Regions from separate parts of the Homo sapiens genome. Here all the other regions are linked to region 3. The links are contacts of gene promoters, found by promoter capture Hi-C in blood cells and fetal thymus (Javierre and others, 2016). All regions are on one chromosome and are shown on one strand. The core of a region is centred on a gene start or on the middle of the fragment in contact, and the rest is flanking DNA. Distances in the headings are between cores, read along the strand shown. Region 1 holds the start of FBXO42 (F-box protein 42). Region 2 holds the start of CPLANE2 (ciliogenesis and planar polarity effector complex subunit 2). Region 3 holds the start of NBPF1 (NBPF member 1). Region 4 holds the start of MFAP2 (microfibril associated protein 2).

Region 1 (6,786 bases), core at 2,933-5,432, 260 kb before region 3:
ATTAATTGTACAACAACTACAGCACTAAGGTAAATAACTTGTACTGGGATACAGAAGTTCAATATCAAAGCTACTAGCAACACCAATCCACATAGATTCTATAAAAGTTTAGTGTAATTCGTCGGGAGCGGTGGCTGAAGCCTGTAATCCCAGCACTTTGGGAGGCAAAGGTGGGCGGATCACATGGTCAGGAGTTCGAGACCAGCCTGGCCAATATGGTGAAATCCCACCTCTACTAAAAAAAAACTACAAAAATTAGCCGGGCGTGGGGCGGGTGCCTGTACTCCCAGCTACTCGGGAGGCTGAGGCAGGAGAATCGCTGGAACCCGGGAGGTAGAGGTTACAGTGAGCAGAGATTGCGCCACTGCACTCCAGCCTAGGCGATAGAGCAAGACTTGGTCTCAAAAAAATAAAAAAGAAAAAGAAAGTTTAGTGTAATTCTCACTTAAGCGGTCAGCTTCAATCAAAAAGGAATTAAGATCTTCTCATTTTATTTATTGTTGGGAAAAAGGAGACAGTACTAATAACCACCTATAATCAACATTGTAAGGAATAACAATTAAATATTTACTGTATTAATTGTCATCAAATTAAAAACACAGTGCCTCTTGTACTAGTTTACAAAACAAAAACAAAAAAGCATCATCACTCTAAAGTTGTCACCACTTAGTAATCTGAGATATTTTAATTGCAGCTGCAATGTTTGTGTTTGTTGCCTGTGTATATGACTCATATAGAAAGGTTTTCCCAAGACTGCTGGATTTTTGAGAATGCAGAAGCCATAACTGGGGCATACTGTGTGGGAACTGTCATGACAGTGAATGAATAAAAGGGGAAAAGAACCCATGACAGAATTTTTTTTCAAGTTTTTATAAAAAGCAAGTCACTCACTAAAGGCAGACTCTGCAGAATAATAGGAAAGGTTGGGGAAAAGCCATCCCTGCTCCAAGAAGCCTTCCTTGACTCTCTTGGTTGGATTCAGTGCACTTCTTAACACTACATAGCACTTAACGGGTTTCCTTGTCTGGCTCCCCAGCCATACTATATGCAACTTCAGACCAAAAGCTGTCTTAAATTAGTACCTACTTCCCAAAACACCCGCCATATGGAGGGCCCTCAGTAGGTGGTTCATAAATAGGAATAATCAATTTTACATTTACCTTTTATTTTACATTTTACAAAGCACTTTCACGAACACTATCTTTTCTGATCCACATTAACAATCGTGGGAAGGGCTTTATTTAATCAAATGGCTTCTGGTTTTATAAAGAGTTAATTCAGGGCCGGGCGCAGTGGCTCAAGCCTGTAATCCCAGCACTTTGGGAGGCCAAGGCAGGTGGATCGCCTGCGGTCAGGAGTTCAAGACCAGCCTGGCCAACATAGTGAAACCTTGTCTCTACTAAAAATACAAAAAATTAGCTGGGCATGATGGCAGGCACCTGCAATCCCAGTTACTCAGGAAGCTGAGGCAGGAGAATCGCCTGAACCGGAGAGGTGGAGGTTGCAGTGAGCCGAGATCATTGCACTCCAGCCTGGGAAACAAGAGCAAAACTATGTCTCAAAAAACAAACAAAAAGAGTTAATTCATTGACTAAAACAATTCTGAAATCACAAAGATAATTACGTATTTGTTCATCTTTGAGATAGCTTCTCCCTGGGACCTCAGTGTTCTCATAAAACTCAGACGTTTTGTTAGCATTTTCTTTGCTTGCTCTCCATAATAGGTAGGACTCACCCTGCTCTGAATCTTACTCAGGGTTTAAACCACATAAAGCTGTTATTAAAGACCCCTCTAGAAATCAGACAAGAAGAAGCATCCTAAGCTATTTTTTTTCTGATCCTGTTCTTTTTGTAACTAAGGTAAGGAATTGCAAAGGTCAAAATCTGGAGAGCAAATGATGTCATGGATGTCATGAAGTTGCATCAATACCTGATGATGATTTAGCATAACAGTGCAACATATTATGCCAAGAAGCATAATGATGAGCCACCAGGATGTTTTACTGCATTAATTTCATGACTCTTTATTAGCAAATTGATATGCAAAGTAGCTCTCCAATTTTCTACCACAGAGAAGCTGCTGGTTCAGATTTACATCTTTAGCAAAGACACTAAGAAAATCGACAAATTTCTATGGAAAAGTCTTTGATTTAAAAATAGAAAAGGAGGCTGGGCACGGTGGCTCAAGCCTGGGGTGGGGCAGGGTATCGCTTGAGACCAGGAGTTTGAGATCAGCCTGGGCAACATCGGTGAAACCCCGTCTCTACTAAAATTACAAAAAAAAAAAAAAAAAAAAAAAAATTAGCGGGCGTGGTGGCGCACACCTGTAATCCCAGCTACTCAGGAAGCTGAGGCAGGAGAATCGCTTAAACCCAGGGGATGGAGATTGCAGAGAGCCGAGACTGTGCTACTGCACTCCAGCCTGGATGACAGAGTGAGAAACTGCAAAAAAAAAAAAAAAAAGAAAGAAAGAAAGAAAGAAAGAAAGAAAGAAAGAAAATGGTCAAATAATAACCTAAACAGTTGTCATTTTAACAATGAAAAGCTTTTTAAGATACGCAACATGCCTATGGATCAATGTAGATTGAATCATCTATTTATACTGGCTTGTCAAAAGCAAACAGTTACTGGGTATAAAATGACAACATACAATAGAAAAGACACCCAATCAGATTACACACGTGAATACACTCAAAGTTAGCAATTTAACACAGCATCACTAATGGCCATAAGATATACAGACTTAATTCTAAATATTCAATTCTAAATGATGGTACTTCCCCCAAATTTTCCTTGCCTCTTTAAATCCATGATGTCATCATTCTTAAGCAGAAGTAAAGCCAATTTGTTACAAAAGATATTTTGGTGTGTCCAAGCAAAAGCAATCGCCTCAACAATTCTGCATAGCACAAGTTCAGTGAAGCCATCATTCCTCAAGAAAGAGACCACAAGGCTTCAAACCGACTTCCCTACATGACAGAAACACAATCGAAGTCTCCCAATTAGCATTTAAACAGCAATAAAAGTTGTTCTCAAAAAGGAACAACATAGTTTCAACGTCGGGGCCAGCAACTGCCAGCAAGTAAAACTGGTAATGTGTCAGAATCTTCATCTAGATCGATCAGAATCCCACCACAGAAAAATCCAGACTCTGGCAATTAAGAAATGAGGCTTTTATTTTCCTAACAGAAATCGGGAGATTTAACAGACAAAGCAATTGGTTATTCTGAATCTTAACAAACCGAAGGTTTCAAACGAACTCAGCGCTGAAGTTACTCTGCAGCGACCATCAAGATCTCACAATCGTTTTCTCTTCGCTTACAAATTCGTTCCCACCCTCCACCGTTCCCTTTGCACACACAATTCTCGCCAAGAGAAGCCTTCCACAGTCACAGCATGGATTGCTGTCTCAAGCAAGGAGATCCGCAGTTCCCATTTCTCTAAGGGAACACTCAACAAGCTAGGGGATAGGAAAGGCCTTTTGTGTTTTATTTAACGTAAACCAATTCCAAAATTATCCCTTTGCAGCTGCAGGTTCAGAGATGCTAGCCCCCAGCCGCAGCCCCAATTTTGATGGGCACCCGACCCCCGACTCCTCTCTCGCAAAGGAGTGAAATGTTCGGAGGAGCGATGAAAGATTACCTGACACCCTAAAGCCATCCTTGCCCGGGCCACACACCCCTTCACTGCCCGGGTGAGGGGACGAGAACCACCCTGCTGAGGAGAGGGGGTGGGTTCGCTCCCAACCCAAGGGCTGGCTGGAAAGGAGCTGTCCTCCTCCTCGCCTCACTCGAGGACGGCGATAGCAAGTCACCCTGCCCAACCAGGACCGACCCCCGCGTGGGATACGGGGCCTGCGTCAGACCCCGGGCGCCCGCTGCCCCTTGCCAGTCCCGGGCATAAAGGGCAGAAGGCGCCGGCTCCCCTCTGCGGCCCGGGGAGGAGGAGAGGCCTCACCTGGCCCAGCCCGCTCCACGCTCTCGGGTTCGCTCCGCTGGCGACGGTAATGAGGGAGCCAGGGACAGGGCCAGAGCAGAGGCGCTCTGCCTCAGGCCGCGACAGCCGTGCTCGGGGCTCCTCACAGCTGGCGGGACCCCGAGCCGCCCGGAGCCGCCATCTTCCTCCACTCAAACGCCGCCGCCGCCGCAGCTGCTGCTGCTCAGGCCGGGAGAAGACAGCGCAGAGCGCGCATGCGCCGGGGCGGGCGCGGCGGACGCGCGCGCACTCACGTCAGCGCGGCGGGATGGCGAGGGGCGGCCAGGGGGCGGCGCAGTGTTGAGAAAGGCCGTGGTCACAGGCCGAGGTTCTGTGGAGGGTGGAATGCGCTCGGGGGAGCTAGGCCTCCGCACCCGCCTTCGCCGCGTCTCTAGCGTCGACCTGATAGCCGCACCCACCCTCCGCTGCACTGTCTGGGGCAACTGGGTGGTTTTCCCGGTGGTTTGAGACTAACATTTAGCCAGGAATTAACTCACTTCTACCCCGAGGGCCCGATGAGCAGAGAGGGCTGTGGCGGATGTGAGTGCTCTTGGATATCGCCAAGGGGAGGGAAACTGTGCTTGAGGTGTGCAGGAGAAGTCTTCCCTTAACCGTAGCCTCGTAGCAACCACTGTGAGTTCTTACTAGCTCCACTTTTCAGATGAGGAAACTGAGGCACAGAAAACGATCACTTATTTGCCCGGAGTCACACACCTATCAGTGGAGGTGGGGCGGCGCGGGAAAGAGGATTTAAACTCAGGCTTGTCTGGTTCCCAAGCTCCTTTACTTCCTACTAGCTAGGTTATAGGATCCAGCAAAGTCCCCCTTCTCAAGGGAGCAACCTGGTGTGTAGGTGAGAACCTTCATGAGCCCAGCCCTACAGCATGTGGTCTAAGGAAATGCCAGATACAGAGTCAAAGGCTTCAGTCTAAACTCTGTAAGCCAAAAAAACAAAACAAAACAAAACAAAAAACTAAGCCCCCACCCCCCCCCCAACACCAAACCATCTGAACGGACTTCCTCCTAGGCCAGGGCAGTCTAAAATGTAACCAACCTGAGAGACTGGTTCAGGCCATGACGGGAAGCAGGACATGAGACATGCCTCATTACATCCTTCAGCATTGACATCAACACAACAGACCTTAAGACTGGTAAGAAACATTTACAATCTGTTCTCTCTGGAGCCCACCTGCCACTTGGAGGCTTCACGTGCGTGATAAAACTTTGGTGTCCACAATCCCTTATCATAACCCAGACATTCATTTCTATTGATAATAACTTTTTTTTTTTTGAGACAGGGTCTAACTCTGTTGCCCAGGCTGGAGTCCAGTGATGAGTTCTTGGTTCGCTGCAACCTCTGTCTTTCAGGCTCAAGCTATCCTCCTACCTTAGCCTCCTGAGTAACTGGGACTACAGGCGGGCACCACCATGCCTGGCTAATTTTTCCATTTTTTTTGTAGACACAGGGTTTCGCCATGTTGTCCACTCTCATCTCAAACTCCTGAGCTCAAGTAATCCACTTGCCTCGGCCTCCCAAAATGCTTGGATTACAGGCGTGTGCCACCGCACCAGGCCTATTGATAATAACTATTTCAACTCATTGCCAATCAGAAAATGTTTAAATCTGCCTATAATGTGGAAGCCCCCACTTCAAGTTTCCGGTCTTTCTGCACCGAACCAATGTAGTTTTTATTTATTTATTTACTTATTTTTATTTATTTGTTTATTTTTTTGAGACTGAGTCTTGCTCTGTCGCCCAGACTAGAGTGCAGTGGCACCATCTCCGCTCACTGCAACTTCCGCCTCCTGGGTTCAACCGATTCTCCTGCCTCAGCCTCCCGAGTAGCTGGGATTACAGGCGCCCGCCACCGTGCCCAGCTAATTTTTGTATTTTCAGTAGAAAATACAAAATTCAGTAGAAAATACGGGGTTTCACCATCTTGGACAGGCTGGTCTCAAACTCCTGAACTCGTGATCCACTCACCTCGGCCTTCCAAAGTTCTGGGATTACAGGTGTGAGCCACGGCGCCTGGCCTTTTTATGTATTTATTGAGACAGGGTCTCACTCTTCGCCCAGGCTGGAGTGCAGTGGTGTGATCTCCACTCACTGCAACCTCTGCCTCCCAGGTCCAAACGATTCTCGTGCCTCAACCTCCTGAGTAGCTGGGATTACAGACATGTGCCACCACACCCAGCTAATTTTTGTATTTTTAGTAAAGACGGGGTTTCACCATGTTGGCCAGGCTGGTCTCGAACTCTTGCCTCAGTTGATCCACCCGCCTCGGCCTCCCAAAGTGCTGGGATTACAGGCATACGCCCCTGCACCTGGCCCTGTATTAATATATCTTAAATGTATTTGATTGATGTCTCATGTCTCTCTAAAATGTATAAAACCAAGCTGCTTCCCAACCACCTTGGGCACATGTTCTCAGGATCTCCCAAGGGCTGTGTCATGGGCCATGGTCACTCATATTTGGCTTAGAATAAATCTCTTCAAATATTTTACAAAGTTTCCTCCTAGGAAATCTCATGGGGCATAGGGCTGGGCCAGAAGCCAAGTTCCCCTCAAGTTGGAGGGCAAGGCCTCTTTGAGCAGACTTGGGTCACCCTTACCCATAGAGAGCTGTATGAGCCAGAGGCGGTGGTGCATACTTGTCAGCCCAGCACTTTGGGAAGCCAAGAGGGGAGGATCGCTTGAGCTCAGGAATGCAAAACCATCCTGGGCACCATAGCAAGACCCCATCCCTACAAAAAGTTGAAAAATTAGCTGGACATGGTGGCATGTGTACCTGTAGTTCTAGCTACTTGGGA
Region 2 (7,283 bases), core at 2,178-4,677, 380 kb before region 3:
CAAGCAGCCCTAGGGCAAAGAGAGAGCCAGGCAGGGTCAAGGGGTGCTGTGGTTTGAAGGTGTCCCCCAGAGTTCATGTGTTGGAAACTTAATCGCCAATGCACCAGTGTTAGGAAGTGGGGCCTAACACAAGGTGATCAGCTGCCCTCATAAATGGATTAATGTTGTTATTGAGGGAGTGGGTTTGTTATAAAAGCCAGTTTGGGCGCCTCTTGCTGTCTTGCTGTTGCCCTTCTGCCTTCTGCCACGGGATGACACAGCATGAAGGCCCTTTCCAGATGCTGCTGCCATGTTCTTAGACTTCCCAGCCTCCAGAACCATGAGCCAAATAAGCTTCTGTTCATTATAAATTACACAGAGGAGGCCTGGTGCGGTGGCTTACACCTGTAATCCCAGCACTTTGGGAGGCCAAGGCGGGCAGATCACCTGAGGTCAGGAGTTCGAGACCAGCCTGGCCAACATGGTGAAACTCCATCTCTACAAAAAAAAATACCAAAAATCAGCTGGGTGTGGTGGTGGGTGCCTATAATCCCAGCTTCTTGGGAGGCTGAGGCAGGAGAACTGCTTGAACCTGGGAGGTGGAAGTTGCTAAGCCGAGATCACACCACTGCACTCCAGCCTGGGCGACAGAGCGAGACTTTGTCTCAAAAAATAAATAAATAAATAACTTAGAGTGTGGTATTCTGTTGTAGCAGCATAAAATGGACTAAGACGCGGGTAAATCCTGCACTTGCCCCATCAGATCCTGGGCTGGACAGTCTCACTTATTTATTTTTACTTTTTTTCTTTACCTTCTATTTTTAATACGGATGGGGTCTCACTATGTTGCTCAGGCTGGTCTTGAGCTCCTGGGCTCAAGCAATCCTCCCACCTTGGCCTCCGAAAGTGCTGGGACTACAAGGCATGAGCCACCACATACAGCCAAGGACAACCTCATTTCTAATGGCTTCTTCAGGGCTAACCAACCATCTGTGGTTCTTTTTTGTTTTTTTTTGAGACGGAGTTTCGCTTTTGTTGCCCAGGCTGGAGTGCAATGGTGTGATCTCACTGCAACTTCCGCCTCCCGGGTTCAAGTGATTCTCCTGCCTCAGCCTCCCGAGTAGCTGGGATTATAGGCATGCGCCACCATGCCTGGCTAATTTTGTATTTTTAGAGATGGGGTTTCTCCATGTTGGTCAGGCTGGTCTCGAACTCCCAACCTCAGGTGATCTGCCTGCCTCAGCCTCCCAAAGTGCTGGGATTACAGGCGTGAGCCACCGTGCCCGGCCTCATCTGTGGCTCTTAATACTCAACCTAATTTTACAGAAGTCTGGGATACAAAGAGACTAGCCTAAGCATTATAGTCAGTCTGTTGATATTTATTTACTAGCTGCTCTCAGCGTTTGTTGTGGGGCCTGCATGACAACCACTGAATGATACATTCAGGTGCATAAACCCAGCTGTTAAAAAAAAACCCAAATGTCTGCAGTTAAAGTAAAAACACAAAAATTAAAAGCCATCACTGCCATTCCTCTAAGTTATGGCTGCTTAATCCTATCTGTGGCATAGATAATATGGTCAGTGGATTCTATGATGTTCCCAGAAAATCAGCTCAACCTTCACTCAATTCTCTTCCACTCAACACAACTAAATGCAAAATAAATACAATAACAGCCAACCTTCAGTGAACACCCACTGCATGCCAGAACCTGCTTGGTATGTTACAAACACCCTCCTTATTAATTTCCCCAGTAACTCTATGGGGTAAATACTGTGATTATCCCCATTTTACAGAGGTGGGACTTGAGGCTAGAGTTCACTTATTCCCAGCCATACAGCTAGCAGTGGTGGAGCCTGGGTCACTTGCCTGGGTATGTGTGACCCCAAATACAGTGTTGCCAGCCATCATGGGATTAGAGGGACAGTGGCCATATTAGAGGGTCTTTTTTTTTTTTTTTTTTTTGAGACGGAGTTTCACTCTTGTCACCCAGGATGGAATGCAATGGCTCGATCTAGGGTTGCTGCAACCTCTGCCTTCTGTGTTCAAGCGATTCTCCTGCCTCAGCCTCCCAAGTAGCTGGGATTACAGGTGCCCGCCACCACGTCCGGCTAATTTTTGTATTTTTAGTAAAGATGGGGTTTCGCCATGTTGGCCAGGCTGGTCTTGAACTCCTGACCTCAGGTGATTTGCCCACCTCGGCCTCCCAAAGTGCTGGGATTACAGGCCACTGCGCCCAGCCTTCTAGAGGGTCATTTTTTGAATTTAATATAATTTCTTTTAAAAAAACAAACAAACAGTTGACTTATTCACAAATTTTGGTTCTAGCTATCTCACTCTCTGGTCTTAAGTCTTCTGGCACCTTGCTTCTCCTGGCCAGAGCTGGGCTCCACAGCTGATTCCAGGCACCTCTGCCGGCCTGACAGCTGGGCCCTGCCTGGGTGAGTCAGTTTCACCATGGGGAACACCAGCGTCTCATCCCAGAGACAGCAGGACATGGAAGAGGCTCACCTCTATTTATTGGGGTGTGATCTTAGCCAAGTCTGTACCATGTGCTGTTGAGAGGTTAAATGGGCGTGCACTGTGTAACGTGCCCAACAGAGGGCCTGGCACCAGGGGAGTGCTCAATCAACTGCATCTCTGGTGACAGTGGTTGCTGGCAAGGTTTCTGCTGTTTCCATGTTCCTGGCTCTGACGATGGAATTAGCTCTAAGGAGATTTAGGTGTGGGGGTCCCAGAGCTAGGGCTTTCAGTCCCCCAGGCTGAAGACTGCTGAAGACTGCAGTGGAGCAGGCCCTCACTGCCCTGCCTCTCTGCTCTCCTCAGGGAGCAACAGGTGACACTCTTCTCCCCAGGGAAAGACAAGTGGCGGGCTAGAGGAAAGGGGGAGGCACTTACCAAACACCCGCCGGCGGTTCTTGCGCAGAATGCAAGCCAGGTACTCCTTGCCCTCGGCACTCTCGTGCCAGTTTGGGACAACCACCGAACCGGGCACGGGAGGTCTGGCCATGGCTGGGCACCGCGACGGGGTAGGGAGGTGACAGAATGCTGAGAGCAGGGAGTGGGAAGGGGAGTGACAGTACCAAGCCGGGCCTGTGATCCCTCTTAACTGCCCTCTGACTCTCCCGGGGGGCCCCAGAAAGTGCAGTCCCTCAGCCGCCTCTCTCCTTCGCAATGCTCCCTGGGGATAGTCATCCCATTACTGCCCATGGAGGGTATTCACACAGCCCCTCTCCCCTTGTCACCTCCGGGGGTCAGACAGCCCCGCTTCTCCTCTACCTTCTAGATCCCGACTCCCAGGGCTACCTAGCCCTCCCCGTCAGCAGTCCCGGCGGCGAACCGACCTGGGTGCCGAAGGCCCCTTTAAACGCCCACCCGCACTCCCGCCGCCCCAGCCCGCCGGGCCCACTTCCGCCCCGCCTGCGTCCGCCTTCTGCGCGTGCTGGCAGCTCCGGCGCAGGTGCGCGCGGCGCATGTGCGGAGGTTGTTGCCATGGAGACGCCGGAGGTTGGGTTGGGCGGGTTCCGGGAGGCGTTCGTCCCTCCTACAACGTCCGCAGCCTGCGCCGCGCGGTGGCTCTGGACTAGGCCTTTTCCTCTGGGTTGTGGATCCTCTTCTCTATGACTCCGTCCGATCCCTAGTCTTTCTTCCAAAACATCATGAAACCCCCCCTCCAGGAGCCTTTCATGCTTCTCTGTGTCTCAGTTTCCTCTTCTATAACGTGGACGTAACATGTTATTCCCTCCATAGCAGTGCTCCATATGTTTAGTTATGATTGTTGCTATTATTAATATTATTGCTCTATTAATCCTGCTTGGCAGGACCTCTAGATGACTTAAACATCTCTGGCTTCACTGATGGGGACACACACCAGCTCAGAGAGGTCAAGGGACTTGGCTCAAGTTTTAAAAAATGAGTCAGAGGCCCGCTGGATTGTATTTTTCATTCATTCATTCATTCAACAAATACTGAGCACCTAGCTGGGAATACAGTGGCCAACAAGAAGTCCCTGCTCTCCTGGAGCTGACTTTTCAGCTCTGAAACTCTGAGCTCCTCTCCACCGTTCCAGCACTGGACACCAGGCCTGTTACCCAGAAGGTGGGTGCTCAGTAAATGCCCACTGGTTGGAAAGAGTGCAGGTGGGTCATTACTGAGAGTTTGTCTATTACATTTAATTTTTACCATTATCTTTCCGCAATGCCTTCAAGTAGGGCAAATCACTGTTTTGAAAGGAATAATTTAGGAGTTAAGCTTTACCTAAGGCCACCCAAGTGCCAGACAGTGGGGACTTTACAGGGGTCACCTGATTTAATTCTATAAACAAACCTGTGTAAATAGTATTACCCTCTTGTACTGACGAAGACTCTCAGAAACATAACGTGACTTGTCTGAGGTCACACCGCACAGCTAGTCAGTGTGAAACCGACTCAGAACCCACAGCTGGCTGGGTGTGGTGGCTCACGCCTGTAATCCCAGCACTTTGGGAAGCTGAGGCGGGCAGATTGCTTAAGCTCAGGAGTTTGAGACCAACCTGGGCAACATAGTAAGACCCTGCCTCTACAAAAAAAAAAATACAAAAATTAGCCGGGCACAGTAGTGCACGCCTGTAGTCCCAGCTACTTGGAGGCTGAGATGAGAGGATTGCTTGAGCCCGGGAAATGGAGGTTGCAGTGAGCCGAGATCATGCCACTGCACTTCAGCCTGAGTGACAGAGCTAGGCCCTGTCAAAAAAAAAAAAAAAAAAAAAAAAAGAACCCACACTTACCTGACTCTAAAGTACTTATCTGTTCTGCCAGTTTGGGTTTTGTGTTTTTAAAACTTTGCCCCTAGCCACTAGGAGGGCTGTTCCTAGGGAAGCAGAAAGCAGCCAGAGGACTACGAACTCACAGATTTTTAAGGCCCATTATGTCTAAGAGAGGGGATGAGGATGTGTAAGACAAGGTGCTTTCTCTCAACTTGCTCACGCTGTGGCTAGGCAGAAAAACCAGATGAATAACCATTCCTACAGGATTCTGCAGGTGGAATCCTTTGCCCATACTCCCAGGTCACATGGTTCCCATTCCTGCAGCTGTCACATCTGCCCAGTCAGGGAGATTCACAGCTGTCCAGAGCTCTCTCCATGGGCCAGGAGTCACTCAGTGGCAGGGCTCTGATCTGAATTATTTCTGGATTTCCAGACTTCACATCCACCCATCTTTGGCTCGTGGAGGGCTCAGTGAGCGTGTGAGAAAATGAAGCAACTTGGCAGAATGAACGTGCCTGTTAATCTGCAACCCAGAGAAGATGTAAAGTCCTCTTGGGGCCATGTGCGGTGGCTCACGCCTGTAATCCCAGCACTTTGGGAGGCTGAAGCTGGTGGACCACTTGAGGTCAGGAGTTTGAGACCAGCCTGGGTAACATGGCAAAACCTTATCCCTAAAAATATACAAAAAAATGGCTGGGCGCGGTGGCTCACGCCTGTAATCCCAGCACTTTGGGAGGCTGAGGCGGGCAAATCACCCGAGGTCAGGAGTTCAAGACCAGCCTGGCCAACATGGTGAACCCTGTCTCTACTAAAAATACAAAAATTATCTGGCTGTGATGGCAGGCGCCTGTAATCCCAGCTACTCTGGAGGTTGAGGCAGAAGAATCGCTTGAACCTGGGAGGTGGAGGTTGCAGTGAGCAGAATCATATCACTGCACTCCAGCCTGGGTGACAGAGCTGAATAAATAAAATTATGTATTCAGTGGAAGGCTGATCAAGGACTCAAAAGAATGCAATCTTTTGTCTCCTATCTACTTTTTTTTTTTTTGAGACAGAGTCTCACTCTGTCGCCCAGGCTGGAGTGCAGTGGCACAATCTCGGCTCACTGCAACCTCTGCCTCTGAGGTTCAAGTGATTCCCCTGCCTCAGCCTCCCAGGTAGCTGGGACTATAGGCATGCCCCACCATGTCCGGCTAATTTTTGTTGTTGTTGTATTTTAGTAGAGACGGGGTTTCACCATGTTGGCCAGGATGGTCTGGATCTCCTGACCTCATGATCCGCCCACCTCAGCCTTCCAAAGTGCTGGGATTATAGGCATGAGCCACTGCACCTGGCCTTGTCTCTTATGTATTTCTAACCTGGAAGCCCCTGCTTCAAGCTGTCCTGTCTTACCAGACCAAACCAATGTACATCTTACACATATTGATTGAGGTCTCATGTCTCCCTAAAACTTAAATGCAAACTGTACCCCTGACCACCTTGGGTATATGTCTCAGGATTTCCTGAGGCTGTCACGGGCACATCCTTAACCTTGGCAAAATAAACTTTCTAAATTGACTGTGACCTGTCTCAGATATTTGGGGTTCACACATCCAACCCCGACATTCTGTGTCAGGGGCTGGGTAGGTCTGTGAGCCTGCAGATTTGACAAAAGCACTAGGCAGTTCTGAAGTTGGGGTCTATATGAGTCAGCCCAGGCTGCTGTAACAAAAATACCACAGTCTGGGTACTCTAAACAACAGAAATTTATTTTCTCATAGTTCTAGAGGCTGGAAGTCCAAGATCAAGGTGCCAGCAGAGTTGGTTTCTGGGTGGGGCCTCTCTTCCTGGCTTACAGATGGCCTCTTCTCTGTGCTTATACATGTCTGGTGTCTCTTCCTCTGTTACAAATAGGACATTAGTCCTACTGGATTAGGGCTCCATGCTTATGGTCTCATTTAACCTTGATTACCTTTTTCTTTTATTTTTTGAGACAGGGCCTCACTCTGTCACCCAGGCTAGAGGGCAGTGGTGTGATCTCAGCTCACTGCAGCCACGACCTCCTCAGGCTCAAGCAATCCTCCTGCCTCAGCCCCGAGGGGAGCTAGGACTACAGGTGCATATCAGCACGCCTGGCTAATTTTTTTTTTTTTTGTATTTTTGTTTGTTTGTTTGAGACAAAGTCTCGCTCTTGTGCCCCAGGCTGGAGTGCAATGGCGCGATCTTTGCTCACTGCAACCTCCATCTCCCAGGTTCAAGTGATTCTCCTGCCTCAGCCTCCCAAGTAGCTGGGATTACAGGCGCCTGCCACCACACCCAGCTAATTTTTGTATTTTTAGTAGAGACGGGGTTCTACCATGTTGGCCAGGCTGGTCTTGAACTCCTGACCTCGGGTGATCCGCCCGCCTTGGCCTCCCAAAGTGCTGGGATTACAGGCATTAGCCACCATGCCCGGACTTTTTCTTTTGTATTTTTTTAGAGGTACGGTTTTGCCTTGTTGCCCAGGCTTGTCTCAAACTCCTGGCCTCAAGTGATCTGCCTGCCTTGGCCTCTGAAAGTGCTGGGATTACAGTCATCAGTCAC
Region 3 (7,471 bases), core at 4,119-6,618:
TCCAGAATAAAGTATTACAAATCAACAGGAAAACAAGCATATCAATGAAAACTGGATAAAAAGATTTAACAGGCACGTCACAAAAGAGGACATATAAATGGCAATAAAAGATACTCAATCTCAATGAAACCACACTGATATATTACTGCACCCCTACTAGAATGGCAAAATAATTTTTAACTGACAGGTATCAGCGAAGATGTGGGGTAACCAGCATATCCCTGCTAAATGGTACAACTACTTTGGGAAAATGTTCAACAATATGTAATACTAAAGTTTTATCATTCATATACCTCTAAAACCAACAATGCCACCCCTACAAATATACCCCAGACTAGTAATGTTCAATTTCTTGATCTGTGGTGGTTCACTTGGTAAAAATTCATTACTTTTTTTTTTTTTTTTTTGAGACAGGGTCTCACTCTGCCATCCAGGTCGGAGTGCACTGCCATGATCACGGCTCACTGCAATCTCAACCTCCCGGGCTCTGGTGATCCTCCCAACTCAGCCTACCGGGTAGCTGGGACTACAGGCACACGCCACCACACACAGCTAACTTCTGTATTTTTAGTAGAGAAAGGGTTTTGCCACATTGCCCAGGCTGGTCTGGAAATCCTGGGCTCAAGTGATCTACCCACCTTGGCGTCCCAAAGTGCTGGGATTACAGGTGTGATCACTGCGCCCGGGCCACCTGCACATGTAAAATTGTGAACTTCTGTATACTTCAGTAACTTTTCCAAGATTTCTTTGACGCAAAGTTCTCAGAAATCTTAAAGCTAGCATTTCAGAATAGAAAAAGTAGCTTCTGGTTCACTAGTGAAATTTTACCAATAGAATTTAAAAACAAAAAGCTACTAACGCATATCAGCTCAGAACACTACCAGCAGATCTTTTCTTTAACTTCCTGAAGCACTGGGATTCATTCTTTTGGCAAAGAAAGGATGAACAACACTGTAACCCAAAGAAAAGATACCACTGCCAGAAAAGACTTCTTTTCGAAAGCAGCTCTAAGCAAAAGATAGGAGGAAAACAAGGAAGCCAGGCCAAACGTCTTGGTTAACTCTCCGCTGAAAGGACGCCACATGAGATGATCTAAGAAGCCAGCCAGCCAGCCAGACGCAGGGAAATCACAGCAACTCTTTGGAGTGCAAACAGCAACCCCACAATCCAATCTACCCGAAATCCTGCGGTTCATTTGAGGCTTGCCCCGCTAGTCAGGAGGTGATTCAGTGATGGCTACAAATGCTGCTCATGTGCATCCTGGAGCTGGCACACCTGGCTTGCCCATCACCAGCCTGGAGACACCGCCAGGAGCAGAAGCCCGGAGGCCAGTAAAGACCCCAACTTTGCAAGTCAGGGGCGCGAGCGCGCTCGCCTCTCAGGTCCGCAGAGGGAACGGATTTCTGGCCTGGAGGGTGGGGTGCGGGGTCAGTGTCCTCTACAGGATATAGGAGGACGTGCCCCCGAAGCTGCTCCGTCCCTCCACCCCCTGGGATGCCACAGAACACCCGCCAGCGAGTTTCTTCCCCAGCGCCCACGAGAGTTGGGCTGCGGGCGGCAGCGGCAGGCGAAGAATCCAGCGCGGGGAACTCAGGCCCCGGCGGTGCACGACCCCCCACAGCCCCCACCCGCCCCCGCGCTCGCGCAACAAAACTTGCCACGGCCGCGCCTCGACCCAGCTGTGCGCCCGCGGGTCCCGGATTCACCGCCCGCCCAGCCTGGCGCGGCGCCCTCACCTCAGAAACGCTGGGTGGACTTCGCGTAACTTCCCATTCACAGGGCAGCCGGCAGCCGCGCCGCCGCGCCTCGGCCCAGCTCCTGGCGCCGCAGATCGCCCGTCCCGCGTTCCCAAAAGCACCGCGCTCGCTCAGAAGCTCGGGCAGCCTCGCGACCCTCACCTACGCCTCCCAGTACCGCCGCTGTCTCAACCGCCACCCAGCCCCTCGCCTGCGCCTGCGCCTGCAGCCCACTGGCTCCTCAGGATCCCGATGGGCGTGTCAGGATAACCCAAGGCGCAGGCGCGGCGGGGCCTTAAAGGGACCCGGCGGCCTCTTCTGCACAACGGGTTCGAGCAGGTTAGGGGCCGCGCAGGCGGAGGAAAGGAGTAACCCAGGGGAAGGACCGAGTGCAGCGGGGACGGGGAAATCCCTCTCTCCCCTCCGCCTGTCTTTCAAAGCACCAGCCCTCGACCCTCCAAATCGCTGGTTTCCCCGGCCACTTGAACAGCCCCTGCCAGGTTGAAGAGGCAGGAGACACACCCCCTCTGGGGCTGGAGCGACCCCGCGCTTAGGACTGCAGGCCTCGCGCTGCCGCACCGCCCCGAATCTGACTTCCAGGCACGGGCACGCGGTGCAGTCGGGCAGGCTTCAGAAGAGCCCCCAGCTCTCCCAGAGGTGGCCTTAGGTCACTCTCAAAAAGAATAACCAATGTGTCAATGGCACTTGTAGTTATTTTCTAATTTAAATTTATTAACAGATTTTGCAGATGGGCTTCCACTGAAATAAGCCTTTGAGAAAAAGAAAAACTTTTTTTTTCAACAGGATTAGAATACCAAGAAATAGGAAGTAAAGCCATGCCGTCCACCCAGCTAAAAACTTTGAAAACTTGATATTTTATCTAAGGCAAATGTTTGCATAACTTTAGGTCATGCCATTATTTAAAGTCAATTTCAGTTAACAATTTCATTGCAACTGAATCTATCTTGTATAAGAAAACTAAGATACATCCCTGATAATCTACCTCTCCCCTCCTATACTCCATCCGTCAGCAAATCCTACTGGTTTTTACCTTCCAAATTTTCCTTGAATCTGTCCTCTTCTATCTCCTCCGTCACCACCCTAGTCTAGGCTGCCTTCACCTGGGGAGTGAGGGTCGAGGGACTACTGACCTAGTCTTCTTGTGGTTTACCCATATCCCCTTTATCGCCTCTCTAATCTCAACACAACAGGCAGAGTGGCTTTTCCAAAATATAATGTGACCGTGTCACTTCCCAGCCTAAAGCACTTAAACACCTTCCCATTCTCTTAGACAAAACCTCCTAACTAACCAAGCCCCGAATGGCCAGGCGCCTTGCCCACTTCTTCATCTCTTCTCACTACTCAGACCAATTCTGTTCTGCTCTCTCTGCTCCAGCCAAACTGGCCTCTTTTATTCCCTATTTACCAGCTTCCTGGCCTCCACAGAGCTTTTGCTCATGCTTTGCTCTGTGCCTGGAAAGTTCTTCTAACCCCTATTCTTCTGAGAACAGCTGTAGTCTCCACCTCTGAAAAGCACCTTCTGACCTCCCTATGGTGGTCCCTTACTCCTATCACATTGCATGAAACTGTAATCGGGTGGTTATTTTGGTGAATTTTTTACTATCGGCTACGTAAGCCCAGGGTTTGGTTTTGTTTGCTTCATGATTTGTATTTCCACATTTGTTAAATACATATTTGTTCATAAATGAGAATGATGGATGCTAGAAGTTGAAGTAAATTTGGCATAAAGTCAGAGAAAGAGAAAATGTCACAATCTGACAGTTGGAGTCAGAATGTAGAAACTTCAGTTATATTAAAACTGATTTTATATCGTTTTAGGCTGAGTTGTCTTAGGATGCTTTGGGTAACCTTTAAAACTGAGTTCTCAAAGAGCCTTGTATAAACACCTGAATTAATAATGATAAGCCATGGGGTGGCCCACATAAAACTAATAACATTGGTTGCTTTAAGAGAGGAAGACTGAGCCAGGCACAGTGGCTCATACCTGTAATCCAAGCACTTTGGGAGGCCAAGGCCCGCAGATCATTTGAGCTCAGGAGTTTGAGACTAACCTGGGCAACTTGGTGAGACCCTGTCTCTACATAAAATACAAGCAAAATTAGCCAGGCGTGGTGGCGGGCACCTGTACTCCCAGCTATTTGGGAGGCTGAGGTGGGAGGATTGCTTGAGCTCAGGAGGTTGAGGCTGCAGTGAGCCATGATCATGCCACTGCATTCCAGCCTGGATGACAGAGCAAGATCTTGTCTCAAAGAGAGAGAGAGAGAGAGAGAGAAATGAAGACTGGTGACTGGTGGCTACTGGTGGGAAGGAGATTTTTACTAAATGCCCAAAAGGTTTAAAATTGTAACTTTTTTATTTCAAAGTCTGTGAAGATAAATGACACAAAAGAGCACATACCTTCCCATTTATTTGAAATTCTAGAAAGGGGAAAATTAATCTGTGGTGAAAAAATCATAGCAGTGGTTCCCTCTGGCAGGGGATTGACTGGGAAGTTACATGAGAGAAATTTCTGGGTGGTAAAAATGGTCTCTGTCTTGATAGGGATATGAGTTATATAAGTGTATTCATTTGTCAAAAAACATACAGTTAACATTTCAATGAATGTAAATTTTACCTTAAAAACTATACGAATAAATGCAAATTTAAAATCTGCTAGCTAACACCTAGTTGAGTACTCAGTGTCTATGGGCATTGGCCGAGGCTATACATACACGATTTTCTTTAGTCCTCATACCGTCCTCATGGGGTAGGTATTATTATCATAACCCCCTTGCATATGAAGAAGCCAAAATGCAGTAAATACCAAATAACTTGCCTCGATTTATACCCCTGGAAAATGCGGGAAGAGCTTTAAACACCATCAGTCAAATGCCAGAAGTTGTTAAACATTAGACTCTATAGCACTTCTCTGAAATTATAGTATTTTTGGTATATGTATATATATATATATATATATCATCTACTAGATCAAGAGCTTCACAATGATTGAAATCATAGTTTGTCTTTTTGTTTGAGGTTTATGTTTTTATTTTACTTCATTATTTTAAAGACTGAGTCTCGGCCGGGCACGGTGGCTCATGCCTGTAATCCCAACACTTTGGGAGGCCAAGGTGGGTGGATCACTTGAGGTCAGGAGTTCGAGACCAGCCTGGCCAACATGGTGAAACCCCATCTCTACTAAAAATACAAAATTAGCCAGGTGTGGTGGCACGTGCCTGTAATCCCAGTTACTCAGGAGGCTAAGGCAGGAGAATCGCTTGAACCTGGGAGGTGGAGGTTGCAGTGAGCCAAAATTGTGCCACTGCACTCCAGCCTGGCCGACAGAGTGAGACTCCATCTCAGAGAAAAAAAAAAAAAAGACTGAGTCTCACTATGCTGCCCAGGCTGGACTTGGACTCCTTCATTCAAGCCATCCTCCTGCCTAGGCTTCACCTGGGACTACAGGCCCAATATTTTTGTCTTAAGTTTCTAAGCAGTCCCAAGACTTTGCACAGTAGCTGTTCAATGTATTTTGAGTGAATGATTAAAAACAAGCTTGATGTCGATTTTATTGGTACAATTTATATTTACATATGTAATATTTATATGCTTTTATATATTTATGTGTGCATGTATATAATTGGTACTAACTTAGCACTGCTGTGCCTAAGTGCCTGAGATGCATCTCAAATGAATAGGCCTGAGGAGAGAAGCTTGTGTCATTAGCTCTGACCCTGCAGCACTAATCCTGGTTTACCCCTTTCTTTCAGTCTCCCTGAGCACAATTTATTTGCTGAAAGGCCACATCTCACTATGGAGTGAGGATCAAGAAGTAAAGGTCTGAAAGAGAGAAGCTGCGGGGCTGGGGAGACTGTTGGTCGGAGAGGCGTCGGGGGCCCAAGGAAAAGGGAGGATTGTGGGGAGGAATCGGCGTAGAGATGAGAGGAGCAGCAGAGACAGAGTCTCACGCAGAGGTGTGCCCAGACACCCTGAACCAAGTTACTTAACCTCGTCCACCACCGTGGCACCCGTGGGGTCCGTGGGCCCGTCGGTCTTCCAGGAGGGATTCTGTGTCCCTGTTATTGTGTGTCAACATGTGTTAGCCTGATATTTATATTTTTAATGAGAGAAAACGAACTCTGGAATTTGCGAACTGTTTTTTCGTTTTGCTTTATACCTCTTGGACACTCCTTCCGAAGGATTGGGTCTCAAGGGCAGTGGGGTGTGACTACGGTAGACAGGGCTGATTAATTTTCATCCAAAACTCTTTGGCGGATTCCCCTGCTCTCCGCTTCTCCGGTCTAACAGTAGTTTAAAATAGAAGATCAGCAACATTTGGAGAGTTTTTTTCTTTGCATTTTAATGATAAACTTGATTTATTCCATTCCAAAAGTTTTCTTATTCTGAGGTTGTCTTTCTATATTTTGAGTATAAAACAATGGCCATACTATGTTGGAACCACCAAGGTTCTTCTCTTCACTTGTTCATTTGTAATGTCTCTTTATAATCTGAGAATTTCCTGAGCAAACTGGGAACTGTTATACATAATTCCTTGTTTTTCAACATTCTTTGTAAACAGGAATCAGGATTGGGGATGGGGAGGGAGGGAGGAGTAGGAGTCCTGATTTGTGGAACAGAAAATCATGGATTACTTATGTGATGGAGCAAAGGGTTTAAAAACTCTTAGCATCCCCAGATTTCCCCTTTTACTGTTTGCTGAAGAAAATTCTGTCTTTGACTCCCTTCCTTACCCTCTCCGGGCCTGTGAGAAGCTTCCTCCCTATCCAGTTTATTTCCTCCTCTGCTCCCCGACCCACCCCCCACAGCCCCCTCCTCTTTTTCAGTGAAGCCGCTGGAGGAAAGTCGGGTTTGGGAGAAGACCCACACAGGCAAGGACAGCAGGAGAACACTGACATAGTTACACTCTTGTCACCAGCACTTTTATTAAGACGTGAAAAGACAAAGACAACAGAGGAGAGCAGAGAATAATATCTCTGTTTCAGCTATTCCAGGATGTTATGCCAATTATCCAGAGTCCTTGATCTGATGTAGTAAAGAGCTAGGGACATTTTCCCTGAAGGCTTTGATTGCTGGCAAAATCTCATTAAACGTGTATACATTCATAGGTTGGCCATAGGATGGATAAAAGAAGAGCCTCTGGCCTACATCTGCCACGATACATGTGCAAAAATGCTCTCTGCAGCATTATTTTTCATTGTAAAATAGCAGAACAAATTTATTATTCAATAATTATAAAATGGTCAAATGTATGTGACTATATTTGGACAATGAAAAATGCAGCTGTTAAAAGCAGACAATACTGATGATTCAGATGATGTTACTGATGAAAATAATAACAGATGACAATTATTGAGCATTTATGGCATTCTTACAGGCATTACCTTATTTAAAGTTCAGAACTACCAAGGAAAAGAGTAACTTGTGGCAGGCGTGAGAGGTTCCGAGGCACAAAAGGAAGATAGGCATTCAAGGAACACCAGGATAGAAGACCCAGAGTAGGAGAAGAGAGAGGAAGAGGAGTCCGCCAGATGGGATGCTGGAAACCGCGGGATAGCTCGGTGGAGAGAGGGCGCTCCTGCTCCGCAAGCCTCCCTACGACGGCAGGCCTACCCGGTCCTGCTCCTGCCGGCTCTGGGCATCTGGTTTCTGCCGCTCCATCTCCAGGGAGATGGTGGCCAGGCTGTGCCGTGTACCCATCAACTTCTCTGACAGCG
Region 4 (7,203 bases), core at 3,063-5,562, 360 kb after region 3:
CTGGGGACAGGTGGGACCTCCTGGAGCTGCCTGGGGGGCCTGGTGATGCCAGCCTACGGCAGTCATACTGCCCACACTGCCAAGAGCCCACATGGGCAAGGGCCAAAGACCTCCAGCCCACCAGCACCACCCCCTACTCCACCCCAACTTCAGGGCGTGCCTCCATTTTTCCAGCTGTCAAGAAAGCCCTTACCAAGAGGCCCAGGCTCTGTGGGCTCCAGCTCTGCATTTCCTGGTTCTGGTGTGGAGACAGAGGTAGGCAGACATCACTGGGAGGGGTCTCCTCAGGGCAAGGGGAGTCACCTCTCCCAGCCCTGGCAGACCCCCACTCCCAGGGTTGACAGGGTGGGGAGGGGTGAGGCAGGAGCTGAGACGGGTGGGAGCAGGGTCTGGGGCCTACCTGGGGTTGGGGCTGGGATGACTTCCTGTTGGACTTGCTGCTGGGACTGGAACTGGAACTGTTCCTCGGAGGGCCGAGGAGTCACCTCTGCAGCCAGGGGAGGATAAGGGGGTCTGCTCCCTCTACCCCTCCCAGGGGGTCTCCCCACCCCAGCTGCCGGCCCGTCCTATCCTACCCCTAGCCCGTTACCTTGATAATCATAGTAGTCTGGGTTGTCTGCAAACAAAGATGAAAGTGGAATTGGTGGGAGTAAGGCTAATCCCCCAGCCCCTGGGGCAAACAAGTTCCCTCCTGAGCCAGGGACCAACCCCCAGAGTTCCCATCAGCGTGTCCAGTGCGGTCCCTGGCTGAGCCAGGCACATCTGAGCAGCCAGGCCTCGGTGACCCGGCAAGGCCCTTACCGATCTGGTCGCTATAGTGGGTGTACTGGACGTGGTCAGGGAACGGCGGCAGCGGGTCCAGGTCATACTGGCCCTGAGCCAGCAAGCCTGCTGTGGGGAGGCAAAGCATGTAGGGTACCCCATCGGGAGGGGCAACGGGGGCCCGAGGCGCTTCTGGAGAGTGGAGGCGGGGGTCACAAGGTCAGGCCCATAAGAGCCTAGGACCCCACAAGCAGATTCCTAGAGGATCCAGACTCTTCTTCGATGGTAAAGACCCTTCCCCACCCTGGTCATGGGTCACCTCCCTGACCTTACCCTGCCCCTTCCTGTTGCTGGCCTCCTGGCTGCTCCTAGGACTCCACATGCTCCTGCCTCCCTCAGAGCCTTTGCACCTGACACTCCCTGGGCCTGTGAGGCCTGCTCAGCTCCTTCAGGTCTTCCCTGGAATTTCAGCTGTGCCAAGATGCCGCCCCACCTCCAGCCCACCAGCCCTCCTGCTGATTTCTGTCCAGCACTCAGCACATGCTGGAGTTTCTCATGTCTGCTTGTTTCCTATTTGTCTCCCTTCCCTGGACTGGCAGCATGATGAGGAGCAACGATGTGTCTGCCTGGTTCATCGCTGAATCCCCAGGGCCTAGCCCAGCACTTGGCACGTGGTAGGGACTCAACACATCGCTGCTGAATGAATGAATGTTGGCCCTGCTAGGACTTTTGTGGTCCTCATTGATTCTCTTCATTTGGCCAGTAGGGACCCCCACAAGGTCAGGACTGTATAGAGCAGAAGGGCCCTGAATGGATCTAGAACTCAAGCATCCGGACTCCCTGCCTTGGGTGCCCCTGCACCTGCACATCGGCTCCCAGAGAGGCCTTGTGCCTTGTGCCCACGGAGTCCTTGTGCCTGGGACGTGCCCTCCAGAACCCTGCCTGCCTGCTGCTGTGGAAGGCTGGGGGAAGGGCCAGGAGCTGCCTCCAGATGCTGCCAGGGTTGGCTGGTCCAGTCTGTGGTCCAAGCAGGCAGAAGGCCCTGGGAGCTGGGGAGCTGAGTTCTGGTCATAAGTCGTGACAAAGGCTCACTATGAATTCCCCCTACTAACCCTACTCCTCAGCCCCACATAAGAGGAGCTACCCCCTGCCCCAGGAGCCACTTACCAGGCAGGAATAGCAGGAAGAGGTAGGCAGCTCTCATGGCAACAAAGAGGCAGGCCGGGGTGGTGTCAGAGAGGACAGCTGGGGAAAGACCGGTGGGAGAGCTCTACCCAGGGCCACACCCAGGACAGCAGAGCTCACCTTTGATCCCCTGATTTCGCCCTGGAGAAGGTGGCACCCAGAATAGAAGCCAGGCATGGGAGGGCTGGAGTGGAGGGACATCCCAGTCCCTGCTGGCCCACCCAGGTGTTCAGGTCACAAGGGACAAGGCCTCCAACCCAGCTCCAGGGCTGATCCTGACAAGCAAACCCCGTGTAGTGGGTGTACTTGATGTGGTCAGGGAAGGGCGGACCCTGCCCTGCTCACTAAGGGGACATTCCTAATGTGCTCCCAGCCCAGGCCATTCTGTCCTCACCCACACCCGTGCTCAGCCCTCTGGCCCAGTGGCTCCCTGGGTGTCCAAGGCACTGACTGCGTGAATCACTGAACCCAGGCCCATCCTTGGGACCCCAGCCCTGGCCAGCCGGCATCACCGCCTGGACTCAGCAGCTTCTGCCAAGCCACCACCTGCTCCCAATTAGCCCCTGGGCCCTAAGCATCCTGCTCAGCAGGAAACCACATACACATGGGCCTGCCCGGCCCCCAGAGCGGCCAGGCCGGGCAGGGCTCCCAGCTCCCAGAAGACTCCTCTCCTGCCAGGCCTCCAGGCCTCGCAAGACCTGGCTGTGTGCATCACAGGCTCACGAGACCCGGGCTATTTGCAGCAGCAGGAAGCACGAGAGTGAAGCCTGAGGGGGCTCCTCTGGATCCCAGAAAGGCAGCACTGAAGGGGCCGTGACATCACCCAGGCTGGGGGTTCTGCACCCCCTGACACTGTAGGCAAGTGTGTGTGTCATTTGGAGGGAGAGGGCATGGGGTCCGTGGCTTTCATCAGGCTCCTGACATTCAAGAGCCCAGCCTCCAGTCCTGGCTACACGGTGGGACTTGGGGGAGCCTCCGGTTCCCCACATCCAGCCCCAGCTCAGTGGAGGGCCACCTCAGGTCCGTCAGCCTTCTGTAGGGAGGGCTGCGAGGGCGGGGTCCATCCAGGAGGGCCCCTCCCGGCTGCAACCCAGGAAGTCCTTTCAGAGAGCTAGCTGGAAACCCCAACTTTGGTCTATTTTCCCCACTGGGAGTCCAGGGAGAGGGGAGGGAAAGGGGAGAAAGCAGGAGGTCTTTCCCTCCTTCCTCTCAATCCTGAGGCCTCCTGACCCCCTGGCTCCTCTCATGCATTAGGCACCTCACTAAGGTGGAGTGGGAGCCGGGAGACGAAGCTCAGGACCAAGCTGCCCCAGAGGCGAGGGATAGCTGGCTCCCCACACCCCATTCTGAAAACCCTTGACCTCCTCATGGGAGGGGGATGAAAAGACCCAGAGAGCCTTCCTTGCCCTTCTCCCCATCCGTCAGGTCGGTCGGAGCCCCCGCTGCTCAGCAGAAGGCGCTGAATTGGGGCAAGAGGGGTTGCAAGGTGTTGGGGGATGCCTGTCGGTACCCTGCGGGGAGTCTTCCTCCCCTAGGACTGGCCCCCGAACCCAGGCTTATTGGGGGAAGGAGGCCCACGGGCTAGCGGGGAGGCAGGAAAGAGAGAAGTCAGTGTGGAGTTCATGAACTCCTCCCACGGGACCACATCTCCGAGCTCTTCTAGACGAAGGGGTTTTGGGGCGTGCGGGAGGCCAGGACCTGCCTGGGAGGCTGCCCCACCCCCACCTCTGGCCTCTTCCACAGCTGCGGCCTCCCCCACCCCCGACTCCCCTGCGTCCTGGGAGGTGGGGGACAGGGGGCCCCGACGCTCGCTCAGACATCAGACGGAGGGAGGGCTCTGCCGGCTCCAGAGCCGGGCTCAGGGGGAGGGGTCCCGGCGGGAGAAACCCAGATGTTGCAGCGCCGCACAGCTGGGAACAATCAGCCGCGGAAACTTGCTCCGCGCGCCCTCGCGCTCCCGTCTCTGATCTCTCTTTGTCTCTCTGCGTCTCTGTCTCGGCCATTCCCACCGGACCCCCCCCCCCCACCCCACCCGCCACATTCCAACCTCCCCGGGAGAACAAAAGATGTCCCATCCCCCGACGACCTCACCTCTGGCTCCCCCCAAACTCGGGCTCCCCGCCCTTCCCAATTCGCGTTCTCTCTGCAGAGCAACCCCAAACTTTCCAGGTGCCCCCTTGGCCTCCGCTCTGAAGGCGCGGGGTTCAGGAACCTCCGCGGCTGCCCCAGGATCGAGGACCCAGAGAGCCTGGCACCCTCGCCCCCGCGCCGGGGGACCCGCCGACGCCCCTGACCGCCCCCCGGGGCCCCCAAGCGCCAGGCCCGCGCCTACCTGTCCGGGTCACTCCGCCGCCCGCTCCGAGTCCGCCCGCCGGAGCCGCCCCTTGGCCCGCTCCGAGTCCCCCTCCGGGCCCCCGACGGGGCTGGCGCCCGCCCTCCAGCCCCGGAGCCGCTGGGTCCTAACGCGAGCTGCCCGCATGGGCCGCCACGCCGTGCCCTCGGGGTTCCATCTCCTGGGGGGGGGGGTGTCCCCGGGGTAGAGGCGCCCGGGGCCGTCCTCACGTCTGTGCAAAGCTTCCTCCTCCTCACAGCTGCTCCTCACTCGACGTCGACGGGGTGAGGGGGGTGAGGTGGGCAAGGGTAGGTGTGTTGCCCATTTCACAGAGGAGGAAATCAAGCCTCCCAAAGTGACTCACCCTAGGCCCCTCAGCCAGAAAGTAAGCCTCGATCTCCCTCTGCCTTCTCCCAGCTTCCAGGACACTCTCCTGCCTTGGTTTTCCTTCTGCCTCTCCAGCCAAGCCTGCTGCCTCTCTCAGGCCCGCACCCTCCTCTCCTACACTGCTGAGCTCTGGGCCATGGCTGGCTTCCACAACCAGCGGTTCTTTCTTTCCTTTTCTAGAGACAGGGTCTTGCTGTGTTGCCCAGGCTCGTCTGGAACTTCCGGCCTCGAAATTTTGGCCTCAAGCATTCCTCCTGTCTCATCCTCCTGGGCTGTTGGGATTACAGGCATGAGTCCCTGCCCCCGGCCATAACCAGCACCTCTTTCAGCCCTGACCCAGCCTATGTGTCCCACAAATGTCCTCAAGATGCATCAGCTTCAACAAGCATCCAAGTCCAAATTCACGACCTCCTAACTCTCCCCCAGACCTGGCCCTCCAGGATTCCCAGTCCCCCCTTGGCCCCGCAGCCTTCCATTACCCAGGCTTCCTCCCCTGCCCTTAGCCCTGCATCTAATCCAGCACCCACCCGTGAATGCTACCTGAAAAATTTCTTTTGTGACTCCGTTCACTGCTCCCACCCTGGCCTAAGCCACTGTGAGACCAAGTTGCAATCCCAAGAAACCGCATTTGCTCTTTCTGCTTGTCAGAAGCTGACAAAGCCCTGACTCAGTGACTGGGGGCAGCCCAACGGAAGGATGCCTTGAAGATGGCAGGCAGGGCAGAACACAGGCTCCCACGCCTCTTGCCTGAATCACTGCATTGTTAGAAAATATAAGTTAAATGATCCTGGCTGTGCCTTTTCCTGTACATAAGATAGCACCTGACAGGATTGACGATTATGCCTCTATAATCTATATAACTAGGTGCATCCTCGAACCCAAACCTTGGCGAGATTTGCACTAGTGTAGCTTCTGAAGACATTTGATGTAAATTTTTCTTCTTCTTTTTTTAATGAGACCGGGTCTCGCTCTGTCATCCAGGCTGGAGTGCAGTGGCACCATCACAGCTCACCTCTTGGGCTCAAGTGATCCTTCCACCTCAGCCTCCCAAGTAGCTGGGACTACAGGCAAGAGCCGCCATGCCTGGCTAATTTTTTTTTTTTTTTTTTTTTTTTGTATTTTTTGTAGAGAAGGGGTTTTGCCGTGTTTGCCCAGTCTGGTCTCAAACTCCTGAGCTCAAGCAATCCACCCGCCTCAGCCTCCAAAAGTGCTGGGATTACGGACGTGAGCCACCGTGCCTGACCATAGCTTCTGAGCACACACAGAACCGCCTGCCTCTGTATCTAAACTGTGGGCTGAAATGCTGCTTTGGCGCAGTCTAACAGAAACTCTCTGAAACCCTCTCCCAGGGTGCAGTCCTCAGTAAGACTCAATAAAACTAACTTTAATTTTTTCAATGGCTGATTTTTTTTTTTTTTTTGAAATGGAGTTTAACTCTGTTGCCCAGGCTGGAGTGCAGTGGTGTGACCTCGGCTCCCTGTAACCTCCACCTCCCGGGTTCAAGAGGTTCTCCCAACCCAGCCTCTCGGGTAGCTGGGATTACAGGCACATGCCAGCATGCCAGGCTAATTTTTGCTTTTTTTTTTTGAGTAGAGACAGGGTTTCACCATGTTGGCCAGGCTCCTGACCTTAGCTGATCCGCCTGCCTTGGGTTCCCAAAGTGCTGGGATTATAGGCATGAGCCACTGTGCCTGGCCAAAAGGTGGATTTTTTCTTTTTCTTTTTTTTTGAGACAGGGTCTTGCTATCTCCCAGGCTGGAGTGCAGTGGTGCATCCTCAACTCACTGCAACCTCTGCCTCCTGGGTTCAAGCGATTCTCATGCCTCAGCCTCCAGAGTAGTGGGGACTACAGGCACCCACCACCATGCCTGGCTATTTTTTTTTTTTTTTTTATTTCTCGTAGAGACGAGGCTTCTCCATGTTGTCCAGGCTCGTCTCGTACTCCTGACCTCAGCTGATCCACCCACCTTGGCCTCCCAAAGTGCTGGAATTACAGGCGTGAGCCACTGCACCTGGTCAAAAGGCTGATTTCTTATTTAGTTGACACCACCATCATTTGCCTGGGCTCTGCGATAGCCTCCACTCTGGGCTCTCCCACGTGGGTCCTGCCTCCCTCACCCCCGCAGATCGTGCCCCTTCTACTGATCGCCTTTCACTCAGGTTAGAGGCTCAACTTCCCTGTGGCTTCCAGGGCCCCGGCCCTTTATGGCAGCCTGGCTCTGCCTCCTCTTCCTCCTCCAGCCACTGGCCTTTGGGGGTTTTCTCCCAAACCCCTCTCCCTCCCACACTGAGGCGTTTCTTCCTCCCGAGCACTGGCTGAGGTCTCCTCCATGGGGTCACAGATCAAACCCTCCCTTCCTCAGAGGGGCCTTCCCTTTTTCCTTTTTTTGTGCTTTCTAGCTTTACTGCTTGCAGTTGTCTTGTTGGCCTATGTCTGTGACCATCTGAGCCCTGTCCCTCTTCCCGATGAGACTGTCATCTTGCCCCGTGAAGGCCAGGACCAAGGCTGTTTTTGCTCATCTTCAGTTTTGCTCATT

What was found. The method cuts DNA at HindIII sites, captures the fragments that hold promoters and counts their contacts. A CHiCAGO score of 5 or more calls a contact.
Region 1: the fragment with the promoter of FBXO42 here is called in contact with a fragment that was not itself captured in region 3 in 3 of 17 cell types (total B cells, erythroblasts and naive B cells); the score reaches 7.4 in total B cells.
Region 2: the fragment with the promoter of CPLANE2 here is called in contact with a fragment that was not itself captured in region 3 in 3 of 17 cell types (total B cells, erythroblasts and naive B cells); the score reaches 9.0 in total B cells.
Region 4: a contact is called between the fragment with the promoter of MFAP2 here and a fragment that was not itself captured in region 3, in 2 of 17 cell types (naive CD8 T cells and activated CD4 T cells). The highest score is 5.4, in naive CD8 T cells.

The regions. Positions count from the first base shown.
Region 1 is chr1:16,348,298-16,355,083 of GRCh38, forward strand. FBXO42 (F-box protein 42) reads right to left here and starts at 4,183. Exons shown (of 10, transcript NM_018994.3): 1 at 3,958-4,183. RefSeq lists an enhancer at 3,448-4,222. The HindIII fragment of the contact is 4,914 bases long and covers 2,544-6,786 here.
Region 2 is chr1:16,233,756-16,241,038 of GRCh38, forward strand. CPLANE2 (ciliogenesis and planar polarity effector complex subunit 2) reads right to left here and starts at 3,428. Exons shown (of 5, transcript NM_030907.4): 1 at 2,876-3,428; 2 at 1-9. The coding sequence starts at 2,987. RefSeq lists an enhancer at 2,921-3,465 and a silencer at 3,306-3,485. The HindIII fragment of the contact is 3,895 bases long and covers 332-4,226 here.
Region 3 is chr1:16,611,602-16,619,072 of GRCh38, forward strand. It overlaps NBPF1 (NBPF member 1), which reads right to left and starts at 1,963. Exons shown (of 18, transcript NM_001405701.2): 1 at 1,737-1,963. It also overlaps the pseudogene CROCCP2. RefSeq lists enhancers at 1,807-2,764, 6,952-7,471. The HindIII fragment of the contact is 158 bases long and covers 5,290-5,447 here.
Region 4 is chr1:16,976,308-16,983,510 of GRCh38, forward strand. MFAP2 (microfibril associated protein 2) reads right to left here and starts at 4,313. Exons shown (of 9, transcript NM_002403.4): 1 at 4,280-4,313; 2 at 1,930-2,007; 3 at 802-891; 4 at 590-616; 5 at 401-487; 6 at 194-238. The coding sequence starts at 1,966. It overlaps LOC105376806 (a long non-coding RNA gene), which reads left to right. Exons shown (of 2, transcript XR_947003.3): 1 at 1-255; 2 at 1,362-1,488. RefSeq lists enhancers at 2,075-2,580, 2,581-3,088, 3,089-3,594. The HindIII fragment of the contact is 10,178 bases long and covers 1-4,519 here.